Regions from separate parts of the Homo sapiens genome. Here all the other regions are linked to region 2. The links are contacts of gene promoters, found by promoter capture Hi-C in blood cells and fetal thymus (Javierre and others, 2016). All regions are on one chromosome and are shown on one strand. Each heading gives the region's core, a stretch centred on a gene start or on the middle of the fragment in contact. The rest is flanking DNA. Distances are from core to core; before and after follow the strand shown.

What was found. The method cuts DNA at HindIII sites, captures the fragments that hold promoters and counts their contacts. A CHiCAGO score of 5 or more calls a contact.
Region 1: a contact is called between a fragment that was not itself captured here and the fragment with the promoter of PNLDC1 in region 2, in 1 of 17 cell types (neutrophils). The highest score is 5.2, in neutrophils.
Region 3: a fragment that was not itself captured here is called in contact with the fragment with the promoter of PNLDC1 in region 2 in 1 of 17 cell types (total CD8 T cells); the score reaches 5.5 in total CD8 T cells.

Annotation. Positions count from the first base shown.
Region 1 is chr6:160,101,964-160,106,194 of GRCh38, reverse strand. It overlaps IGF2R (insulin like growth factor 2 receptor), which reads right to left. Exons shown (of 48, transcript NM_000876.4): 46 at 3,524-3,676; 47 at 2,380-2,449; 48 at 1-1,521. The coding sequence ends at 1,111. Among named protein-coding and RNA genes, the nearest start is that of SLC22A1, 18 kb to the left of the region's middle. The HindIII fragment of the contact is 6,206 bases long and covers 1-4,231 here.
Region 2 is chr6:159,798,300-159,802,160 of GRCh38, reverse strand. PNLDC1 (PARN like ribonuclease domain containing exonuclease 1) reads right to left here and starts at 1,885. Exons shown (of 19, transcript NM_001271862.2): 1 at 1,778-1,885; 2 at 1,332-1,389; 3 at 975-1,048. The coding sequence starts at 1,853. It overlaps MRPL18 (mitochondrial ribosomal protein L18), which reads right to left. Exons shown (of 4, transcript NM_014161.5): 4 at 3,732-3,861. The HindIII fragment of the contact is 10,328 bases long and covers 1-3,861 here.
Region 3 is chr6:160,060,806-160,065,086 of GRCh38, reverse strand. IGF2R (insulin like growth factor 2 receptor) reads right to left here. Exons shown (of 48, transcript NM_000876.4): 24 at 3,441-3,584; 25 at 3,159-3,334; 26 at 2,468-2,555; 27 at 1,457-1,672; 28 at 556-686; 29 at 186-283. Among named protein-coding and RNA genes, the nearest start is that of AIRN, 55 kb to the right of the region's middle. The HindIII fragment of the contact is 190 bases long and covers 1,553-1,742 here.

The sequences.
Region 1 (4,231 bases), core at 1,187-3,686, 300 kb before region 2:
TGTACCCGCCCAGCCTCCCTCCAGCATGAGGCCAAGTGCAATGCTAGGGCCGAGGCTCTGGCCCATGATTTTTCATGCAGTTTCTGTAAGTCACACACTGTGCAAATTAAGGCTTCTTATAGGTCGAATGGTTGATCAACACTTTTTTCTTAAAAAAATAAGCACAGTAAAGGTGGTATCATGAGAACCTGAAGAGATGAGACCTATACCCCAAATCTGGAAAAAATTCATTTTCTCTGACACCTCAACTCCACTCACACACACACACACACACACACACACACACACAAACACACAAATCAATCTTTGGGCAGGTTGTTTGAATTCACCAGCCGGCAAAAATACTGACAAATGTGCTCTGTACGCCCAGGCTTGAAGATATCATGCAAAAAGGTGCAGCCATTCCTGACTAAAGGCATAGAACAGGCAAACTCTCCAAAACCTAGGCACTCGGGGACCCTGTGCACGTATGTGTGTGTGTGCTCGCACGCACGTGTGTGTGCCCTTAAGAAACAGAAAGCAAAAGAGAAAAGAGACAGAATGAGCTCCAACTCAGGGGACACATTAATGACCAGTTCAACATCCCGCCGGAAGCTGCCCCATACACTGACAGCCTCACCATCTCAAGATGGACAAACTGGTACATCACACCCCTGCTGGCAGGAAGAAACGGTGGCTGTTTTTTTTTCCTTTTTCTCAAACCTGAGTAATTGTCAAAGTCAATAAATAGGGGGAGAGAATTAAAATGCTAAAATATATCGGGGTCAAATACCCTATCGGGACTAAAGCAGCAAGGGTTTCTTCGAATGCAGCCCTCTGTTTTGAGATGCGTCCGGCCTTATGCTTTTAAATGAGGACTTGGGGCAAAACCCTGGGCACAAGGTACCGCCCTGTGGCCGATCTGAGCCATGCCTTATTCCAATGACTGTAAACAATCAGGAAGGAGTGGGGCCTGACCTCCTTCACCCTCTCCCCCATCACAAAAACTCTTCCCTTTTGAAAGTTTCTGTTAAAGGCAAAATTATAGAAGCATCATCGAGTGGAAGTCTTATTTGGTTGGAGGTGCTTGGCTGTCCCGCGGCTCCGTGCTCCCCTGCAGGCACTGCGGAGTCAGATGTGTAAGAGGTCCTCGTCGCTGTCGTCATGGAAGGACACCAGCTTGGTGGAGCTCACTGTCTTCTGCTGTGCAGAGCTGGACTTCCCTTTCCTCGCCTTCTCACCCCTGACCAGCCCCACCCTATCGTCCTCACGCTCCTGAAGGGCATTGCTCTGTGCGTTTCTCACTGGGTGGGAGCTCTCTGCCCCAGCTCCCCTGCCCGAGTGAACTTTCACCTCTGGGATGGTCAGAACCTCATCCTCACTGTCCTGGTCATCCCCATGCAGGGAGCTGAGGGCTTTCACTGACTTGGTGGTAATATGGCCGTTCTCCTGCCCTTCCTTTCCCTGCCGTGGAGGAGGCAGCTGGATCTCTTCCATCAGCCACTCTGTTTCATTCTCATCTGTCTCTTCTTCCTTATTCACCTGCCAGGGATCAACAGCAGAGACCACGTGAGCCCCCTAAGAGACCCCATTCTGCTCCACCATCCACCACATCAGGGATGCTCTCTGCTGGCACGAGCTGGGGAAGAACTGGCCCACTGTCCTCACAGTCACTGCATCTCCAGTTCCCAGGGAAAGGAAGACGAGGGCTGGCAACACCTTCCTGTTCCTAATGAGACTGCACCAAGGCAGGAGGGTTTGGGAGGGTGGCAGTGGGGTCATTTGGCAGGAGTCTCACAGCCAAGGGTGGGACCAAGCAGAAGGCGTTCGGGATGGCCTGGACCGAAAAGCAGACCAGTGATCCCCCAGCGCAGCTGGGGGAGAAGGGGCTCTTCCGGGCTACTCATAGACTGAAAGGTGCCCACTGCATGGCAGGGGAGGAATGTCAAAGGAGGGACTCCAGTCAAAAGCCTAGTTTTAGAGAGCAATTCATCATTACCCATCGAGACCACAAACATTATGTCCTTTGATCCAGATAATGCCTCTTTTCTGCAAATTTACCTGAAAGAAATCATCCAAATGCTACATGCACAACTATCTTCACTACTGTGTGTGTGTGTGTTTTGTTTTTTTTTTAAAGAACAGCCAAAAACAGTGGAAACAACCTAATTATTAAATACTTCAAGGAAATCAGTTGTAACCACGAGAGAAACTTGAGGGAAAAAAATAACAAAAAAATGTGCTGGCGTAAGTGGCTGAGGCAACGGGTGTTGCTTTCCTTTCTGGATTCCAGTCAGCCTGTGACTGCTTTCCTTGGCACCCCTGATGAGAACGACATGGACAGCGCAGCACAGGGGGCCGGGGAGGCAGGCCTTCAAGAGACTCGCCACAGAAAATTACCTTTGAGTATTTGTAGGACACGTTGGAACTTCTCCTACAGCAAGTGGTCAGCTTACTTATCACTGTTTCCCTATAAAAAAAAAGGAGACAATAATTACTCCAGTGTAGAGAGGGCATGGGCAGGAGCCCCACCCCCGCCAGCCCCACCCCCATCTGCACCACCAGGGGGCTGGTGGTGGCTGCATTTCTCCCACATTCTGAATGACAAATGAGTAGCCGTGACAGGTTATATATACCCTAATGTATTTGTTGTGATTGAGTGGAAAGAAGATGGGCTTTGGAATCCAACAGCAGAGGGCCCTCTAGAGCAACTTAACATTAGGGCAAGGACTTTTTCACATGACTAACAGGACCACACCAGTCCGTCGCCACTAAGCCTGCCCAATGGTGGCTCGCAGAGACAGACATCACATGCCCTTCCCGGCCCAGACCTTCTTCTGCCCCATTCTGCATTTTGGGTGTAGAGGGCCACAATCGGTACTTTTTTTTTTTTTTTGGACAGAGTCTCACTGTGTTGCCCAGGCTAGAGTGCAGTGGTGAGATCTTGGCTCACTGCAACCTCCATGGTTGGTACTTTCTGACCACCTCTCTCATTGGCCTGTGGCTCAGCTGGCAAATGACAGTGGCAGCAGGGAACGCCTGAGCTGGCCAGCTCCTGCCCCCAGGTCAGAGCCACTAACACTGACGCCTGACGTGAAAATCTGCTTGACCGTCACATGGAGAGTCCTTTCACCCAGCAAAGTGGCGCAAAAGGATGGCATCATACCTGGTACATAGCAGGCGCTTAATAAACTCCTGCATTTATGATGTGAGGAGGGCAGAGGGGTCAGCTGCTCAGTGGGAAAAGGCACCCATGAAAGGTGCCGTTTAATGTTCTACTCATCTTTGGACACAAAGGACCACGGTCCTAGAAGCCGCAGGCACGGGTGATGTGCGAGGGCCTCGGCCTTGGTCAGACAGAAATGCAGGCATTTAAAAACCACAACGCTGGGGACTGCTTCCAGAGAGTTTTGGACTAAGAACCTCGAGCCTTCGCTGCTGTAGGGCTTAAAAACAAATAAATAAAACCCCACAAAACTGACCCCAAGATTAGCTATGGGAGGCATGCATCCACCCGCCCCACCTCGCCCTGCCACCCGCTTACCTCCTCTCCTTCTTGTAGAGCAACAGGGCCAGCAGGCAGCAGGTGAGCGCCACCAGCAGCAGGCTGAGCACCGCGCCGACTGCCTGGCTCCGTTCTGACAGCCCCTTGTGCATCTGCCCGTCGTCCCCGGGATTCTCGCTGTCAAAGCCCACCCTGCAAGGACGTCACAGAAAAGGAGCCGTGTCACAGGGTGGTCCTGCTGCCACAGCCACAACCTGAGACCTGAGTCCCCAAGGCAAGAGCAGCTCTGACTTTCCCAACACCATGTGATTCTTACTCCTGCCCAGAAAACAAGGCCACAAGTCCCACTCCACATGGAAGAGGGCTGCAAAAAGTTCCTGATGATGAGTTTGTGGCAGGGTTGTCAGAAAGCAGACAAGAAGGCACTGCTTCCAGCTCCATGAACTATCATTCACCCAAACACAGAGGAGACAGGCAGGAGGGACGCGGCCCCCTCTAGGTGGCCCAATCCACGGCAGGACTAGGCTGGGGCAGAGGCTGTCCCGAAGCACCACACTTCTCTCCAGGGTCAGAGCTCTTTCCTCTCAGAATTTCTTCTGGAAGCAGTGAGCGCAGCCCACCATGAGACACCATCTCCACACGAAAGGGGCCCAGGGGGCCTTAGAAACAGGCCAGGACGGGGCCCAGGGGCGGCCACAGACCAGGGTGGGGCCCAGGGAGCAGCAGAGCCCAGCACAGCCCCCGACG
Region 2 (3,861 bases), core at 636-3,135:
GGATTGAGTAGCTGTAAAAGAAACAGCATTACGCAACCGTTAACAGCTCTGTCTTGACCAGCCTGGCCAACATGGTGAAACCCCATCGCTACTAAAAATACAAAAATTAGCCAGGCCTGGTGGCAATTGCCTGTAATCCCAGCTGCTCTGGAGGCTGAGGCAGGAGAATCACCCGAACCTGGGTGGTGGAGGTTGCGGTGAGCCCACATCGCGCTACTGCACTCCAGCCTGGGCAACAGAGCGAGACTCCATCTCAGAAAATAAACTAATAACTAAATCAACAAATAGATCTGTATGAACCGATACAGAAAGATCTCCAAATCCCATCAAGGAAAAAAAAAAAGTTTCTGAAACTGAGATGACCTTAAAAAAAATTATTTTTGTGTGTAAATTTTCTTAAGAAAAAAAAATCACAGGCCAGGTGTGGTTGCTCACGCTTATAATTCCATCACTTTGAGAGGCAGAGGCAGAAAGATTGCTCGAGCCCAGGAAGTCAAGAACAGCCTGGCCAACATGACGAAAACCCATCTGAACAAAAAATTTAAAAATTAGCTAGGTGTGGTGGTGAGCCTGTAGTCCCAGTTTACTCAGGAGGCTGACGTGCTAGTATCACTTGAGCCCAGGAAGTCTAGGCTGCAGTGAGCTAAGACTATGCTACTGCACTCCAGTCTTGGTGACAGAGCAAGACCCTGTCTCAAAAAATAAAATAAAAATCGCACACACACAGTTTTACTTGAAAGAGTAACAGTGAGTGTTCCTTAATACTGACTTATTTAAGCACGGAAACAATGCTGCTAAATTTGGTTTGCTCCGAAGTGTTGATTTCCATATGTATACAATGGCCCAACACAAAACAAGCATACAAAACGATACTCAATATCCTTGAAAAATCTCAGAGCTGTTTTTACAGTAGGAAATCCAAGGACAATAAAAATACCTTCTTGAAAAACTCTAACAGCTGATATTAAACTCACCAATCTGACAGACTGTAAATTGCTGAACACTCTGACGGGTCTTTAGATACCACTCCGATGGCAAATCAAAAAGACTGTGAACAAACAGGCATCTCATTCCACGAGCAATGACATCCCATCCCGGCACTATGGCCTCCGCGGCAGGACCACCACTCGCAACCGGGGAGGATTTTTTCCTTGTTACAACAACTAGGGAGCACTACCATCATTTAGTGGACAGAAAAAAGCAAGGTCCTCCAACACGTAGGAGCAAGCCACACAAAACGTCCTGCCCCCCAAATGCCAACAGGCTGCTGGCCAGAAACAGTGCTGGTCTGGCCAGGCTCTTATACAGAGGGGACACAGCTTTAGTTTTACCTGATCTGCTGGGGCCCAGACAGGTTAGAACGAAGGCCCGTGAACTCTATGTCCAGACCTGCCAGGAAGGCAAAAAATAGCAGTCCTCGGGTGCAGAACATCGCCAGCACTCCTCACACTGTAGATCTGCAGGCGGCCAAGGCACCCGCGCTCACCTCTGCGCTCAAGAAGCCAAGTGAGGTCAGGAAGGGAAAATGGAGGAACCAAGGCAAGGAGCAGCCAGGCACCTGGGCGCACGGGGCTCTGGCCAACAAGGGACGTGGGGCTCGGAGTGTACTTGCTGCTCAAAGTCCCACCGCCCCGGGGCTGGAGAAGGAAGCCCCCCTGTCCTTCCCGAGGCCCTCTCTGAGGCCCTGTGGCCTGGCAACCGTCCCGCCACCCCCTCCTCAAGCTCGCCCGGGGCAAGGGGCTCTGTCCGGCACAGCCGCGAATCCCAGGCTCTTCACCCACGAAGTCGGCCTCCTGGACGAGCTCCTGCAGCAGAGGGAGGCTCTCCTCGAACTCGTCGGCGCCCACGTCCATGGCCGTGCAGCTCCGCGGAGTCGCCCAGCGCTATCACGTGCTGCCCACGTGCTGCCCACGCGCTTCCGTCGCGCCGCCGGGTCTTAAAGGGCGCACACATGGAAACCAGGCAGCTGCCTCCGCCCCACGTGCCCAGCTTCCCCGTGTGCTGCTGGCGTCGCCCACACCTGCCTGCGGGTGTTTTAATTGTACGATTTGCTACAGAGGTTTGATTGCAATTGCAATCAAAGCCTGTTTACCTGGCTCCTCAGCAATTTCTTTGCAGCCCTTAACGTGAGAATGTCATTTACATGGACTTAGAATGTTAAGAGGCGTGGCAGGAGACGAAGACAGAGTCCAGAAAGGGTGAAATCAGAAAAGCGGAGCAGGAACAACACCGGACGCAACTGCAATAAGCAGATCCTTTGCTGCGGCTCACGGTCTTCTAAATCACCTCTTCCCAACTTCTCCATCACTGCCAGTATGTCTGTCCCCATTCCCTCTCCCACGCCCCTGGACATCTTTTTCCTCATTCTGCTGTCCACCTTACCACTGTCTTCACACCTGCAATCAAACTTTGCAAAGCCTCAAGAACTGCCCATTAAATTGAAGGAATCCTTGGTCCCCAGGGATTATCTCGTGCACTCACTCCTTGCGGAAATCCCTACCTACATCATCACATACATGTGAGCTTAATTTTTACTTTTGTTACTGTTTCCAGTGCAACTAGTCCATGGTCTTCCTTACAGTGTCCTCCCTTGAATTCTAGGCTTCTACTTGAACAGCGTTTTGGAACTATGGTCCTCAAAGTGAGGTGCTCAAATCAATCTTTAAGGTTAGCGGAGAAAACATTACCGTTATACTTTATTTTTTCCTTTTGAGACAGTCTCACTCTGTCACCCAGGCTGGAGTGCAGTGGTGCCATCTCGGCTCTCTGCAATCTCCACCTCCTGAGTTCAAGCGATTCTCCCGCCTCAGCCTCTGAACAGCTGGGATTACAGGCATGCACCACCACGCCCAACTCATTTTTGTTTTTAGTAGAGATAGGGTTAAACCGTATTGGCCAGGCTGGTCTCGAATTCCTGGCCTCAAGTGATCCACCTGCTTCAGCCTCCTAAAGTGGTGGGATTAGAGGTGTGAGGCACTGCATCCGATCTTCAATTATACTTTTAAATGCCTCTCCGGGACATTAATTAAGCAAAAGGGGACTATTAAGCCATTTGATTCTGAAGACCTCTCAGAACAAATCATACTTCATACAGATGTGTTCCATTTAAAATAACACATTGAATACTCAAATTGGCAGAAGTAACATATTTCACTTCTAAACAAACATTTAATTGGGGTATACATTAAAAAAACTGGAAAACAATGCTCTAGAAGCCACCTTAACTGCCTACAGGTTTTTTCTCACATTTATCAAATAGCCAAAAATTAACACCTTAATCAGCTCCTTTCAGAGAACTGCCATGATTCCCATCTACCCAAGCTCAAATTTTAGATTAACTTGCATGCATTTCAAGTTTCATCTCCTATCTAATAAAATGTTCACTTCATGGCAAATTGAGCGCCCACTAACCCCAACCATTTCCACCTCTGCTTTCAGCTCCTGATGCCACCTCCTTCCTCTTTCAAATTTGTTTCTCTTACTGTTGGGAACCAAGAGTCCAAGTGAGGTTGGCATTTGGTCCTTTCATTTTCACATACTGACTGTTCTATAGTATTAGATTGATACTGACATTTCCTATTTTAAAAAACAACCCACACTCCGAGCAGCAAACAACTGTCATTCACTGAGATCACTCGCCATGAACTAGACACAGTAATAAGTGCTTTACATCAACCTCATATGTGCTCCACTGCCACAGTGAGCTCAGACAATGTCATATAACCAGAAAATAAGAGTTCATAATATGCCTTTATTTTGTAATTTATAAACAACTTCTGACTTGCCCTTTGAAAGTTAATTATAATTGATGACTGCTTTTCTTAGATGCTTCTGAAGCCCAAGAGAGGGGCAGAACGTAGT
Region 3 (4,281 bases), core at 398-2,897, 260 kb before region 2:
GCAGCTCCAGGTGGTGACGGAGCTGAGAGTTAACCTAGCCCGACTCCTCATTTTAATATGAGCAAACCGAGTCCTAGGTAAATTAACTGACTAATCTAATCCCCTGCACCCAAGACCACTAATTATTAAAGCAAAATCATACCAAGTTAGTCTGTCCAAAAGAGACAACACATCCATGGACTTACTTGAATGAACATTCAGTCAGATCGAAAGGTGGGCAGGCATACTGCGTTCGCCACTCAAACAAGTAGGAACAATCTGAAGTCTCCTTTAGAAATACTGGCTAAAAAAGTTAAGAGGCACATATATAAAAGTGAGAATGCAAAACTTTAGTTTATACTTTGAGTTTTAAGAATGAAAATAGTAAAGAATGGTTACGTTCATGAAAATCAATACTAACTGATGAAAGTTTCAACATATTTTCTGTAAATGGTTATTTTAAACTCAGTTAACCAGGAGATTTGATGAGATCTGAGGACAGATTCTTTCTAATATGATCCCAGCAGCCTGAGGGTGGGGAGAAGACCCCGCTGAGGGCCGTCGGTACATGCTCACCCGCTGGGTGCCGCGGTCACAGTAGAAGAAGATGGCTGTGGAGCGCTGATAAACCTTATGGCAAGTGTCCCCCCCCGTGAAGTTCATTTTTAACAAGCCATTTTCATAAGTTAGCTTCTGAGTCAGGAGACCTGTAAAGAAGGAGAACATTAAACAAGGTTTGGTTCGGGTCCCTAGGCTGTCAAACTTAGCCTAAGACATGTGACACCACACACCCTGAAGAGTGTGAGACAAAGTATCCCTGGCCTCCCAGCACCATACCATGCACTCCTGTCACATTACACTTTGGGAATAAAATCAGGCTTCCCCTTGTCCAAGGCTGCTGCAACGTCACAGACTGACCCGTGTATGATGACATGAGGCATTCCTTAGCCTCATCACCTAAGGGAATGTCACTTTCTCCACTGTGCCTGAGGGCTGTCCACGTACTCACCACCAGCTACTTTGACTTCATTTTTACAAGTTCCTAAATGTATTTAAATCTTGCCCAACTGCTGAAACAGCATGAATGACCAACAGCGTGCCCTGTAATTTCTACAGCCAAACCTCGTACTAAATGCATTCCCTGTGACTCAATGCTATCAAGTACTACCCCAGAACATCCAACACTGGCTAGCTCACTGTGTCCCAACGTTGTAATAAAGAAGAGAAATATGACCTTAGAGTCAGTAACTGGCATGGCTAACTAAGAATAAAATAGACATGCTCTACCAACATCCTTCAGTATGTACTCTGTTTAAGAAAATCAAGCAAAATCCGAAATATCATTAATATGCTTTTTTTTTTTTTTACAGTAGAACACTCATGTTTCTGACTCAAGGGAAAATTCATCTTCAGCAAAATATTTTAATATTTTAATTCCATTCCTTTGCAACAAAAGGAAAACGACAAACAATGGTACCTGCCACTTTGTGAAATCCCTGCGGTTCCCGCTTTTCCTGACATGAGGAGACCACCTTGGACTTGTCACTTGTGGGGCAGACGTCTGAGGAAAGCTTCCCACAGACCCGGAAGTAATAAGTGTATTCGCCAGCGCTCACGATGGTGTCGTTGAGGCCCAGGGGCTTCAGGTCATACAAGTTGCCATGCCTTGGGTCTTTCACCTCACAGTTGTCCCCTTCAAGAACATGGAAGAAGTGAAGGGCAACTGCAACCACACACGCATTCACATTTTCAAGCAAAAAGCTTTACAAATGGCCGGGCGCAGTGGCTCACGCCTGTAATCCCAGCACTTTGGGAGGCTGAGGCGGGTGGATTACTAGGTCAAGAGATCTAGACCATCCTGGCCAACATGGTGAAACCCCGTCTCTACTAAAAATACAAAAATTAGCTGGGCATGGTGGCAGGCACCCTGTAGTCCCAGCTACTCAGGAGGCTGAGGCAGGAGAATCACTTGAACCCAAGAGGCAGAGGTTGCAGTGAGCCGAGATGGCGCCATTACACTCCAGCCTGGCAACAGAGCAAAACTCGGTCTCAAAAAAAAAAAAAAAAACTTTTACAATTTTTGGTTAGGTAAATACCAGCTATAAATGGGCATTAAAAGCCATTTCCACATGATTTTGTTTATATATAATACAAATCGCCTGGCAAACAGCTTTCTAGGAAAGTCTAGGTCCCCGAATAAAGACTTGCTTCATCAAACAACACAAAACCAAACCCCACATTAGTGTCTTCAAGCATCAGACGCCAAAATCCCATCAATCCAGGCACACAAGGAAAATGTCACTCGTGAAATTAGCAATATGCTTCAGTAAAAAAAAAAGCTCAAGGAAAAGAAATTATCCTCCCCCTAGCGTGTGTCTCATGACCCCAGCTATGGCTGTTATCACACGGTCTCATATCTAAGGCATCGTTCAGAACGTCTGCTACTCTATACATTTAAAATGACTTGTAGGGACAGGCCCAGTCCTACCTTCCACTCTGACAACGGGACAGGCTTCCACAGTTCTCCAGATAAACACGTACTCACAACCATCCTGAAGCTGAAATGCTGGTGAGCCCTGTAATATAAATCAGCAGCCTGATTTGTTTCCTGTTTATTTTAAAAATTAATCAAATGGGGCCGGGCACGGTGGCTCACACCTGTAATCTCAGCACTTTGGGAGGCCGAGACGGGTGGATCACAAGTTCAGGAGTTCAAGATCAGCCTGGCCAAGATGGTGAAACCCCGTCTCTACTAAAAATACAAAAGTTAGCTGGGCGTGGTGGCAGGTGCCTGTAATCCCAGCTACTCGGGAGGCTGAGGCAGGAGAATCACTTGAACCTGGGGGGCGGAGGTTGCAGTGAGCCAAGATTGCACCACTGCACTCCAGCCTGGGTGACAGAGTAAGACTCCATCTCAAAAAAAAAAAAAAAAAAAAAAATTAAATAAATGATAGCCACAGTTAGTACCCAATCTTTGACCTCCATGTGCAAACTACGTAACATTTATTAAACATTTAAGACCTGAAGAAATGAGTGCATTCTCGTCAAACCCTAGCAATGGCTGAAACTCCACGAAAACACAGGCAAGTTTTAAACAAGATAGAAGATTCAGAGGTTCAAGGGAAATGGGAAATGGAGTCACCCGGGGACAACATCTCATTGCTGGTCTGAACACACACCGATATCTGAGCACACTCAAACGTGATCCTGGTGGAGAAGCGCTGGTTCCCACACTTGTCACCGTTGACATACATGATGCTCAAAGATCCATTCGCCGCGGCTTGGGGACTCATCTGCACCACACCCAGATTCCAGCTATTGCCTTCTGACACTAAGCAAGACCCCACTGCGCTGCCTGGAAGAACAGAATAAGTGGTTTGGGCATGAGGAAGGCGATGACCTTGAGTCAAATGCTCTAATAAAATGAACAGACGCCAATCAAGAGACCAAGGAGAACTCACCCTGGCATCCAGGAATGTAAGGGAGAGGATTGCAAACGCTCAAATAGAAAGTCCTCTTTCTCCCATCGACAGAGGTGTCAACAGCCGTCCAAGGTTTCCTGACTGTGCTTAGGCCAGTCAGGTCGTACTCATTTCCAGCCAGGTCTGAAACACAACAAAAAACCACGCTGGAGAACTCTGCCTCCTTGTGAGCACTCAAGAACTGCCTTTCACCCTAAATAAGCCCTGAGGAGGCGTGAACCTGGCATTCCTAACTGTGAGGATAAGGAAATCCACGGGAGGCTGAGAGGCTTTGCCTACAAAACACACCCACTCTGTCCCTCAAAACTGCCCTTCACAGCCGGGCCTGGTGGCATGCGCCTGTAGTCAGCTACTTTGGAGGCTGAGGCAGGAGGATCACTTAGGACCAGGAGTTCAAGGCCAGCCTGGGCAACATAGTGAGTCCCTAAAGACTCTTTAAAGAAAAAAGCCAAACCCCCACTGCCCTTGACAAGGAAGTACCACTGTTGCAGAGCAGGCAGGGTCAATCCCAGAGGTCAAGGTCTCCTGTATACACTGTCAGCTTCCAGGGCACAGCTTAGGGAGTTTAACATCTTTTTCTTTTTTTTTCACCCTCAAATAAGAAGCTCTGACAGTACATGTGAAATGTGTTTCCTCTGCATTTTCTTCTCTGTTCTTAAGATGTATCTGATCCCAAAAGATAGCTTAAAACCATTAACTATATAGTCAGATTCTCTTCAAGAAAAACATTACAACTCTAGGCATCATTCAAAGAGAATATATAACAGAAATGTCACGCTGCCTGCATAACCAAGCATACACACCACACACACACAAATAT